2 separate regions of the Homo sapiens genome follow, and region 2 is linked to region 1. The links are contacts of gene promoters, found by promoter capture Hi-C in human tissues and cell types (Jung and others, 2019). All regions are on one chromosome and are shown on one strand. Each heading gives the region's core, a stretch centred on a gene start or on the middle of the fragment in contact. The rest is flanking DNA. Distances are from core to core; before and after follow the strand shown.

What was found. The method cuts DNA at HindIII sites, captures the fragments that hold promoters and counts their contacts. A contact is called where the count stands out against the background at its distance.
Region 2: a contact is called between a fragment that was not itself captured here and the fragment with the promoter of CSMD2 in region 1, in 1 of the 25 tissues and cell types used here (dorsolateral prefrontal cortex).

Annotation. Positions count from the first base shown.
Region 1 is chr1:34,162,161-34,167,116 of GRCh38, forward strand. It overlaps CSMD2 (CUB and Sushi multiple domains 2), which reads right to left and starts at 3,070. Exons shown (of 71, transcript NM_001281956.2): 1 at 2,751-3,070. The coding sequence starts at 2,937. It also overlaps a transcript of C1orf94 not described here. RefSeq lists enhancers at 971-1,100, 1,521-1,580. The HindIII fragment of the contact is 8,389 bases long and covers 1-4,956 here.
Region 2 is chr1:33,979,623-33,984,544 of GRCh38, forward strand. All of the region lies in intron 3 of CSMD2 (CUB and Sushi multiple domains 2), which reads right to left. Among named protein-coding and RNA genes, the nearest start is that of CSMD2-AS1, 110 kb to the left of the region's middle. The HindIII fragment of the contact is 3,159 bases long and covers 1,469-4,627 here.

The DNA.
Region 1 (4,956 bases), core at 1,820-4,319:
TGAAACTCCCTCTCAAAAAAAAAAAAAAAAAAAAGGGAGGATGATTGATAGGGACAGCAGGTAATTGGTGGGAAGTCTCCAGGGAGGCTGGGGTGGGGAGGGGGAGGGGGAGTGCAAGGCAGGACAAGGACTAAAGGGGTTGAGGGGAGAAGGTATGGGTGGGTGAGGAGACTCCCCTTTTTCAAACTATTTTATTCATTTATCCAGTGATCACTGAGCCGAGGAAGGGAGACGGTTCAGTCCTGAGCATCTTTTAAATTCAACAGTGTGAACTGAACACAAAATGAATGTGTTTCCCCTTCTAATGTACCAAATCCTGCCGATCTTCTGTCACCAAGTCCATTTCCAAATCTCTGCTGCCTGCAAGGCCAAACAGCCCATCTAAAGGCGGGAAAGGCTTAAAAAGAAATGTACTGGGCTGGGCGCGGTGGCTCACATCTGTAAGCCCAGCACTTTGGGAGGCAGAGGCAGGCGGATCACCTGAAGTCAGGAGCTCGAGACCAGCCTGGCCAACATGGTGAAACCCCATCTCTCCTAAAAATACAAAAATTAACCGGGCGTGGTGACGGTCGCCTGTAATCCCAGCTACTCGGAAGACTGAGGCAGGAGAATCGCTTGAACCCAGGAGGCGGAGGTTGCAGTGAGCTGAGACCGCGCCATTGCACTCCAGCCTGGGCGAGAAGAGCAAAACTCCGTCTTAAAAAAAATTTAAAAAGAAAGAGAAGAAAAGAAAAGAAATGTACTGGAAGCTTGCAAGCCAGAGCAGGGCCTGCCGGAGAGGAACTACCCCAAGCCATGAACACAAGGCCCCCTCCCCGCAACTTCTCTACTGAGCAAGGAGCTGCGAGCAAATGGATCTCTATAGGGCAGGATTCCAGCACCGCTGAGCGGTGCAAGCGCCGGTGAGTCGGCCTTTTTCTCTCCCCTAGGGGCAGGATATGCCCAAGGGGCAGGGACAAATCTAGCCAGAAAAACAATTCAGTCCGATGCCGAGACATTCTCCAATCAGCTAAGCCAGAGACCGGCCTCGCCTCAACGTACGTCCGGGAGGCCTGGCGGGAGGTAGCAGCGATTCCCCCACCGCCCATGTGGCAAGTCTGGGTGACCAGCAGCGTCGGTATGCACAGCCTCCCAGTGGGTGTGGGTGTGCGAGAGGCCAGAGCTCCCAGGCGCGCGCACCGCGGGCGCCCCTCTCTGGGTGTCGGTGGCTATGACTCTTAGCAGAACCTAAGAAAGTCCCGTCAGCTAGGAATGAGAGAGCCAGAGCTGGCTCGGGGCGCCCTCCCTGACCAAGAACCCCAACATGCCGCGGTTAAGCGGTGGGCGACACGGTCTGCGAGGACAGACTCACAAGACGCTGAAGGCCAGAGTGGGCCAGAGAGCTCGCCACTCACTGACCTGCCAGAGGAGAGGCGCACTTTCCCAAGAAGGGGAACTGGGGTGGTCCAGGCCAAGCCTTCAGAGGTTCAATCGGTGGTTTCAAAACAAAACAAAACAAAACAAAAACAAAAACAAAAAAGAAAACACGGCTCCAGGTCGAAGGTGCCCTAGGTCTAGGCCTGGCCAGCAGGTGTTTCGGTTTCTCCCCCAGTGGGTGTCAGCCTCGCGGGCTAAATGAAAATGCGGTTCCAGGCATCCCGGTTTGGACCCGTCTCCACCCGGGCACACGGAACTTTCTAGCTTGTAGCTAGAACTGAGCTTCGGAGGGGTGCTGTGGGTAAAGCGGGAGGGCACCAGTCGCGGCCAGTAGCCTCCACAGGGGACCGGGTTCCCTCGAAGGTTCGCGTACCTCCCCCGCGCGCTGCAAGCTGCAGCCAGACACCCGCGAAGTTCCGGGACTCTCCGCACCCGCTAGATCTGCCCCTTCCCGGACTCGGTCGTCGGGAGCTGGTCCCGCCGCCCGCGCCGCCGCTGCCGCTGCCGCAGCCGAGGCGCTCGGCTGCAGCAGGGCGCGGGAAAGGGCACTTTGGCGCGGAGTGAGCACCGAGGGGAATGTGGCAGCGCGAAGCCTGGCGGCGGCACTCCCTCCCCCGCCTCGGGCTACAACCCCCACCCCCTCCTTCCCATCCCTCAACACCCTCCAGCCCCCACCTGCACCCTCCTGCAAGGAATGCGCGGGACCCCCACCGTGGGCACGCGTCCACCTGAACCCCCTCCTAGCTCCGAGCGCCGAGGGAGGGGTAGCATTTGAGGAGGGGGATGGCGGCCGCAGTCTGCAGTCGGTTCCAGAGGGGGCACCGGTTTCAATTGGAGAAAATGGGCGGGGGCAGGGAAGGGCAGACCTTGCAGACGCAGAAATGGGGAGGGGGCGCACGGTTCCTCTCCAGCCCCCAGGACCAGCGTGCCTGGCAGAATCAGGAGCCGGGGGAGTAGGGCTCCCGGAAAGTTTATCGGGAAAAAGCCTAGCACCGTGGGGGCTGGGAGGCTGGAGAAACTGAAGCCACAGACCAGGTGCCCCGCAACCCCGGGCGGGGATGTCTGTCTCCCAGGCCCCCACACCGGCCGCATCCGTCCAAGTTGCGGCTGGGGTTGGGGCAGCAGTGAGGGTGAGGGTGGAGGTGAGGACGTGGCTGAGGGTGGGGTGGGAGACGGAGGCAGGGATGAGAATGAGAGTAGGCAACTGGGAGGGTGGGAGATTCAGGCAGGGATAGAGGCGGGGGGAGGGACTGGGACCGGGTCGAGGATGGGTGGGCTCGGGGCTCGGGTGGGGCGCGCGGCGGCCGCTGGCTCCTCGGCGCGGCTGGACTCACCCGCGGCGGCCGAGACGCTGAGCAACCCACAGCCCAGCAACAGCAGCAGAGGCGGCGGCGTTGGCGGCGGCGGGCGGCCCCAGCGGCTCCCGGCGCCCGGCACAAGCGCCGAAATCCCGGTTTCGCCGCGAGCCCTCCCCGCGGGGCAGCCGCAGCGCCCCAGCTCCCGTCCCCGCGAGCGCGGCATGGCGCGGCCGGCAGCGCCGAGGGAGAGGCTCCGCTCGCCGCCGAGGAGAAAGGAGGTCAGGAGAGCTCTGGAGCTTTTTTCTGCTCGGAAAAAATCCCGGTACGCGGGAGCCCTGAGCTTCTGCGGCTGGAATGAACCAAGTGTCCGCCCGGCCGGGGAGAGGCGCGCTGCGCTCTCGGAAATGACTCGCTCCAATCCCGCTTCGCGGGGTTCGCGCCGGGGGGCGGGAGGGGGTGAATTATCCCCGGATTAATCACTCCGGAGCCGCTTCTCCGCCGCTCCAAATGCTGGGGGTGGAGGCGCAGCTAAGGATAAAATATTGGGGGGCGGGGGTTCCTCTTCAGCGCCACCTCCACCTCCAGATAAACCACAAATTACATCTAAAGGGTTGTTTATCCGTGTCTGTTTTGCAATTGACCAGTTTCTTTTAAGTTCAGTCCTCCTGTTTTCATTTATAACATCACCCATTAATACACCCCCCTCTCCACACACACACACACAAACACACACACACACACACAGTGACAGAGACACACGCACTCACACACACAGGCACATACACGCACACCTCTTCCACGTTTGGAAATTGGAATCCTGTCTGGGAAAAGGTAACCAAAGAAGGACGCGTTCCCCAAGTCTTGGCTCTTACCAGCTGATCTTGGGTGGTGGCTTTGAACTTGCCATCTAGGGCCGGGGGCGATGCTTATGAGCCTCATTCACAATAGCCTCCTACCCCATCCCAGGAGAGGGGCGTGTGTGCGTAGACAGAGGCAGGGTTAAGAATTGGAGGGCGGTGGAGGGGGGTTGTGTGTGGGGTGGGGAGGGGGGGGAACCGGTTCATTTGACCCAGTGCGGTCCCACTCCTACCCTAAGACAAAAATCTCAGGGTGGCAGAGGCGGTCCCTGTGTGCACGCGAGTTGGGGGTGGGGAGTGAGGTTGGTGGAAGGACGGTGCAAGAGTTACTAGTACAATTTATCCCCAAATTTAAATAATCGGATCCTACTTCTTCTTCTCCCCTTCCTCCTCCCAGCCAAGGCCCCAAACCAAGAGAGTTCTTCCCAAGGACGTGAGCTGCTCCCCACCTCTCCCCAGTAGCGGCTGCCTCTAGGCCCCAAGGGCTTAGTGTCGGTCCCCACCCCATCCCCCACCCGACTCGGTCGCCGTCTCTGTCTCGTCTACTCCAGGCTTCTCCGCCAGTCACGATGGCTCCTTCGCTGTCTACGCCAAACTCTCGGCGAGAGGGAAGAGACGCTTCATGGGGGGAGGCTGGAGGAAACTGGGAGGGGCAAGGTCCAGAGAGGAGGCTTCTGCTGGCGCGTGCAGTGGAAAGGCACCTGCGATGGGCACCCCCGCCCCCTTTGCCGACACACCCCAGAGAAGCTGTGCTCCGGGCTTAGGGCAGCCTGATTTGGCCAAAACGGAGCGTTGGCATCTGTGTGGCCAAGGGGGCAGTGGCCGGCGGGCGGTGGGGCCTGAGAATTTCCGGGGAAGGGTGTGGAGAGGGACTGTAGGGATGGCGAGCCAGGCTGGGGGTGGCTGGCGACCCAGGTTGGCCGGCTGTCAGCGTGGCCAGGAATTTCCATCCAAGGAAGGGTGTGAAGAGGGGCTGTGGAGTTGACGATATGAATTGGGGGGCGGGGGCAGGGCTGGAGGAGTGGAGGCTTGTCCCTACTCCCCATGAAAAACTTCCTCCCCAGAGCCACGCTTTCGCAGCCTCCTAGATGCCACTCTTCCTCCCTCCCCCCACCCCAAGTTGTTCCGGTTTCCCTGCATGAGCTCATCCCACAGCTGGGGAGCCAGCCCGGTGGCCCTGGGCGGGCGAATCTCCTCAGAATCGCGGGCCTGGTCCCCACCCCCAACACGCTTGTATGCCCGCCCCTCCCGACGCCGCCTTGCTGGGTGCCAAGAACCAACCGAAGCAGCCAGAACTCCTCAGTGAAAGGCCTGCTTTATGTTCCCGGGGCAGTGAGGAGGGGGCTTCTCCCTTCCCATTGTCCAGACTCAGCCCCCGAAAGAGA
Region 2 (4,922 bases), core at 1,798-4,297, 180 kb before region 1:
CACTACAAGAAAGGAAAGAGAAGGGAGACAGCAGCCATTTTGTTGCCTTCACTGGAAAAGCTTGTGTGTGTTTTATGTGTGTGTGTGTACTTTTGTGAGCCTGTGTGTCTGGTGGTGAGTGTGACTGGATGTCTCAGACTATGATGCAGGGGTTAAGAGCAGGGACCCCAGAGCCCATCTGCCTGGGTCCAAAGCCCAGCTCTGACTTACTAGCTGTGTGACCTTGGGCAAGTTCTTTAACCTCTCTGAGCTTCAGTTTAGAGCAATGCCAGGCATCTAGCCAGTGCTTTATAAAGATTGACTATTGTTATTTTTGGGGGTTTTAGTGGGTTTCTGTGTCTGTGTAAGTCTGGGTTCTGTGCCCGCTTTAGAGATCTGAGATTCTTGTAGGCAACTTGGTAGATAGAACAAGTGTCCTGGAACCAGGGGAGAGCCTTCACTGTGGACCCTTTCCTGGCCAAGGCAGTGGGCACCAGTGGCCAGAACCCTCAACTCTTATCTGGGGCTGGGACTCTGGAACCTGGCCAGTTACAAAATAAAGATATAAGGAACCTCCTGAGAAGTTTCACAGACTCAGACTATCCCACCTGGCATGGTCCTTAGGGATCATCTTAGAACCCAAATCCCTCTCTCATAAATGGGTAAACTGGAGCCTCAGGACCACTGGCTCCTTCCTTGCTGTTATCTGAGGTAGGTTGCAGGAAGGGTAGCTGTCAGTGCAAAGCACTGGCAGGAATATTTTGTCTTTTCCTAACAGGTTTCCTAGTAGGTCAGGTCTCACAGTGAAACACTGGCTGAATGAAGGAAAGAATCAAGATCTTCTGACTCCCTGGAGAGACAAAGAATGATTCATTCATATACATCCCAAGCACTAACAAGAAAGGGATGACTTGTTCCAGGGCCAGGTACACAGTAAGCACTCAATTAAGACAGTTGTTTTATTTTCTTCGCTTGTGCCTTTGAGGAACTCTCTGTCCACTCAACCATTGCTCCAGTTCCTCCATTCATCCTTCCATCCATCTCATATTTATGAGCACCTACTACGTGTCAGACCGTGGACTAGGTGCTAAGTCCCTGCTCTCTAGAAGATTAGAGTCTAGTAGGGGTGGTAGGCAGTCATCAGAAAGCCCAACAAGTATATGCAAATGCTAATCATTGTTCTCACTGAAGATGATGAAACGAAGGAAAATGGAGAAGGATAATCTGATCTTGTCTCTCTGATAAAGTGGTATTGGAACTCAGATCTGAAGGATGGGGTGGGGAACTTCCAGAAGGAGGGCCTGGCATGTGCAAAGGTCAGGTAGTGGGAGGATACAAGCCTATCTGAAGAACTGAGAGAAAGTAACATGGTGGAGCATGGGAGGGGAGGGAAAAGTTACTTCAGAATAGACCAGGCGAACCAGTCTTATTTGTGGGCCCGTGAGAGATACCCCTGGGGTCTCTTGGGCACACTTCTGTTGGGAGAGAGGAGAAAGTGCAGGGACCCAGTATTGCAGAGGCAGTGGGTGATGTGAGTGCTCCGAAGCTCTTCTGCTCCCCAGATGCAGCCTCTGCTCTGGTTGTTTTGCAGTCCTTACTCCCGGTTGTTTGCAGTTCAACATTCCAGCTATTTGCACTCACTTCCCACTTATTTGCAGGCCTTATCCTCAGGAGTGTGCAGTCACAGCCCCAGCTGTTCATAAGCACTTTCTCAGCTGTTTGCAGCTTCCACCCTCAGCTCTGTATAGTCCCTTCCAGCTGTGTGCAGTTGCCATCCTCGTTATTTGCAATTTTCATCCCCCTTTGGGCATCAGGTAAGGCTTGCTCAAGATTGGTTCTAACAACAAGACTCATTACTAGTAGCTTATAATTGAGTATCTGACTTGTGCTAGGGGCTGTTTTGAGTACTTTTACCTATACTTTCTCATTTGATCGTCATAACAACCCCTTCATTTGTTCATCACGTATTTCCGTCCTACTCTATATCTGGCCCTGGGCCACGCACTGAGTATACAGTAGAGACCAGAACTAGATATGTTGCCACTCTCCTGGAGCTTTCAGTCTCATGAAGGAGACAGGTGCTCATACAGCAATGACACTGCCAAGTATGTAATCATAGAGCCAGACTGGCCCATGAGGGAAGCAAAGGCATTTGGGCTGGACAGGCCATCAGAGGAGAACCCCTGGGACAATGAGTCTGGAGCTGAGAGCTGAGGAATGGGCACAGTGAGGTTCTGCTGGGATGGGGCTGCAGGATAAGAAGCACCCCCAGGTGGAAGGGGTCCCCTGTGCAGATGCTTCAGAGGGAGGGCTGAGAAAGGGCAGAGAGGGCAGTATGGGAGGCCTGTGGAAGTCACACTGGGTGCCCTGATCAGAGTGGCTGTAAGTCTGCTGATTTGTGCCGAGGGCATGGGTGAAGGCAGAGAAGGCAATTTAGAGCTACCATAGCTGTCCAGGTGAGACAAGATGGAACCTCAGGCTAGTGGGTGACAGGACGGTGAAGAAAAGTGGAAAGTGGACAGATGTCAGAAACATTCAGAAGGCAAACAGAAGTGGGTGATGGAGAGATCAGTGGCCAAAATGACTACCAGTTTTCTTGGGGGGCTACTGGATGAACAGACGTTCCATCCTCTGAGCTGGGAGCAACAGAGGAGAACCAGGGCGGGAGGAAGGAGGAGCAAGATCACAGGAGACATTGAGAAACAGACCTTTGCAAAGGGGCTGCACAGTGGCACAGTGCCACAGTGCCCAAGCCCTGGGCTCTGAAGCCAGACTCTGTGCTCCAGTCCTGACCCTCTACCTTCTAGTAGTTTGTCCTTGAGAAAGCCATTTAACCACACCGTGCTTCAGTTTCCTCATTAGCAAACTGTGGAAGGGAGGAGAGAGGTTATCCTGAAGCTTCTTGGACTGGGAGTATTTTAAATGAGTTGATGAATCTATCACAGGCACTGTACGTCCCCAGACTCTAGCTTAGTATGTGGCACATGGTAGGAACTCACTCAATTCATGTTGAATGACTGAATGAATGACGGACCTGTGAAGAGACTCCTGGAATAGGTTATAGGAGACCTGCCAGTTGGTGGAGGAAAGGATATCCCTGGCAGAGGGAGCAGCAGGTGCACAGGCAGAGATGACCGCAAGGGCATGGCACCCTCAAGGCGCTGGATCTACTGTGGCCTTGGTGGAGCACAGGGCACAGGGAGGGCTGGCAAAGATGTGGGTGAAGGGGTAGGCAGAACCCAGCTCGTGAAGGCTTTGTACATCCAAGACATTTGGACCAGACCCTAGGAGTCCAAGGGAGTCTTGAGGGACTCAGAACAAGGGATGGCAGGGCTAGGAGCCCAAGAAGGATGAATTAAAGGGGAGTGAGATGAGGAGGGCAACACTTCTAAGAAGGCAGGGTGTGAGCAGAGACCTGCAGGATCAGGGGAGTGGGGACCCAGCTGTCTACAGATGGGCTGTTACAGGAAGAGCCTGATTGCCAGAGCCTCCCATTGCCAGCCCAGCTTCTCAGACACTCCCTTAGGGGTCTACAGTTATGACAAGGGCCCTCTGCAGAGGGAGACTGGAGGCAGGGAGCTGCTTAGAAGGCAGTGCAACAATCCAGGTGGGAGATGGCTTTTTAAAAAAATATCCGATGATTATTTTTTGAGCACTTAGCAGATGCCAAGAACTTATTTATGGCCTCATGCTCAAGGATGTGGGCAATGCAGCAGGTCTAATCACCTGCCTCTCCCCTCCTTGCCACCTATCTTGGGGCATCTCTCTACTTGGGAACATTTTTCCCTGTGGGAAGTTCTAGCGGGCAAGAAGGGAGGAAAGAACTGACATCAAATCCTTGGAGACTGGTTATGTAGAAAGTAATTTCAAAGAGTCTGCAGGAATATTTGCAGATCTGGTCTGTAATCTGCAAGACTTCCTCTTCTTGGGGACAGACCTGGTTCTCACAGAACGTCTGCTGTCTTAGTCTATCTCTCCCTGTAGCAGAAGGATGTCTCGGTGGTCAAGGCTAAAGTGAGAACTTGTGAAGCTGCAGGTCACAGGCATGCTTTCTCCCCAGCCCATCACCCATCCTACTACCTCTGAGGTCAGGGACATCAGAGGACAGGATCTCTGTAAAGGAGAGAAAGACGTTTTGAGGAAGCTTGTTTCTGTGCATGTATTGGGCAGCCTGCCTCCCTGAAGCTGTTAGCCGAGAGTGAACATTAACATCTCAGGGCAGACGAAAGACTTGCACCATAACCAGGGGTGTTATGAAAAATGGACATAGGCCGGGTGCAGTGGCTCATGCCTGGAATCCCAGCACCAAGGGAGGCCAAGGCAGGTGGATCACCTAAGGTCAGGAGTTAAAGACCAGCCTGACCAACATGGTGAAACCCTGTCTCTACTAAAAATACAAAAAATTAGCTAGGCGTGGTGGCGCATGCCTGTAGTCCCAGCTACTCGGGAGGCTGAGGCAGGAGAATGGCGTGAACCCTGGAGGCGGAGCTTGCAGGGAGCCGAGATCGCGCCACTGCACTCCAGCCTGGGTGACAGAGCGAGACTCTGTCTCCCCCCACCAAAAAAAAAAAAGGACAAAATGGACATAGCTTGGGCCTTCCCTTACTCCTGAGTCAGAATCTCATGGAGGAAGCCAGGGAATCTGCATTTTGACAAGCTCCTCAGTGATCCTGATTTAGACTAAGGCAGTGCTTCTTCAACAGTGTAGAGATCACTTGTGGATCTTGAAAGTGCAACAGGTTCTATTTCACTCGGTGTGGGGTGGGGGCTGAGTTCTGCATTTCTAACAAGCTCTCAGGGGGTGCCCATGCAGCTGCTTCTCAGATCACACTCAAAGCAGCAAGACACTCAAGTGTGAAGCTCTGGTTTCCAAACTTGCTTTTTAAGAAAACAAATCCCTCCCAAAAGAAATCTTGGTCTGGGTGCAGTGGCTCACGCCTGCG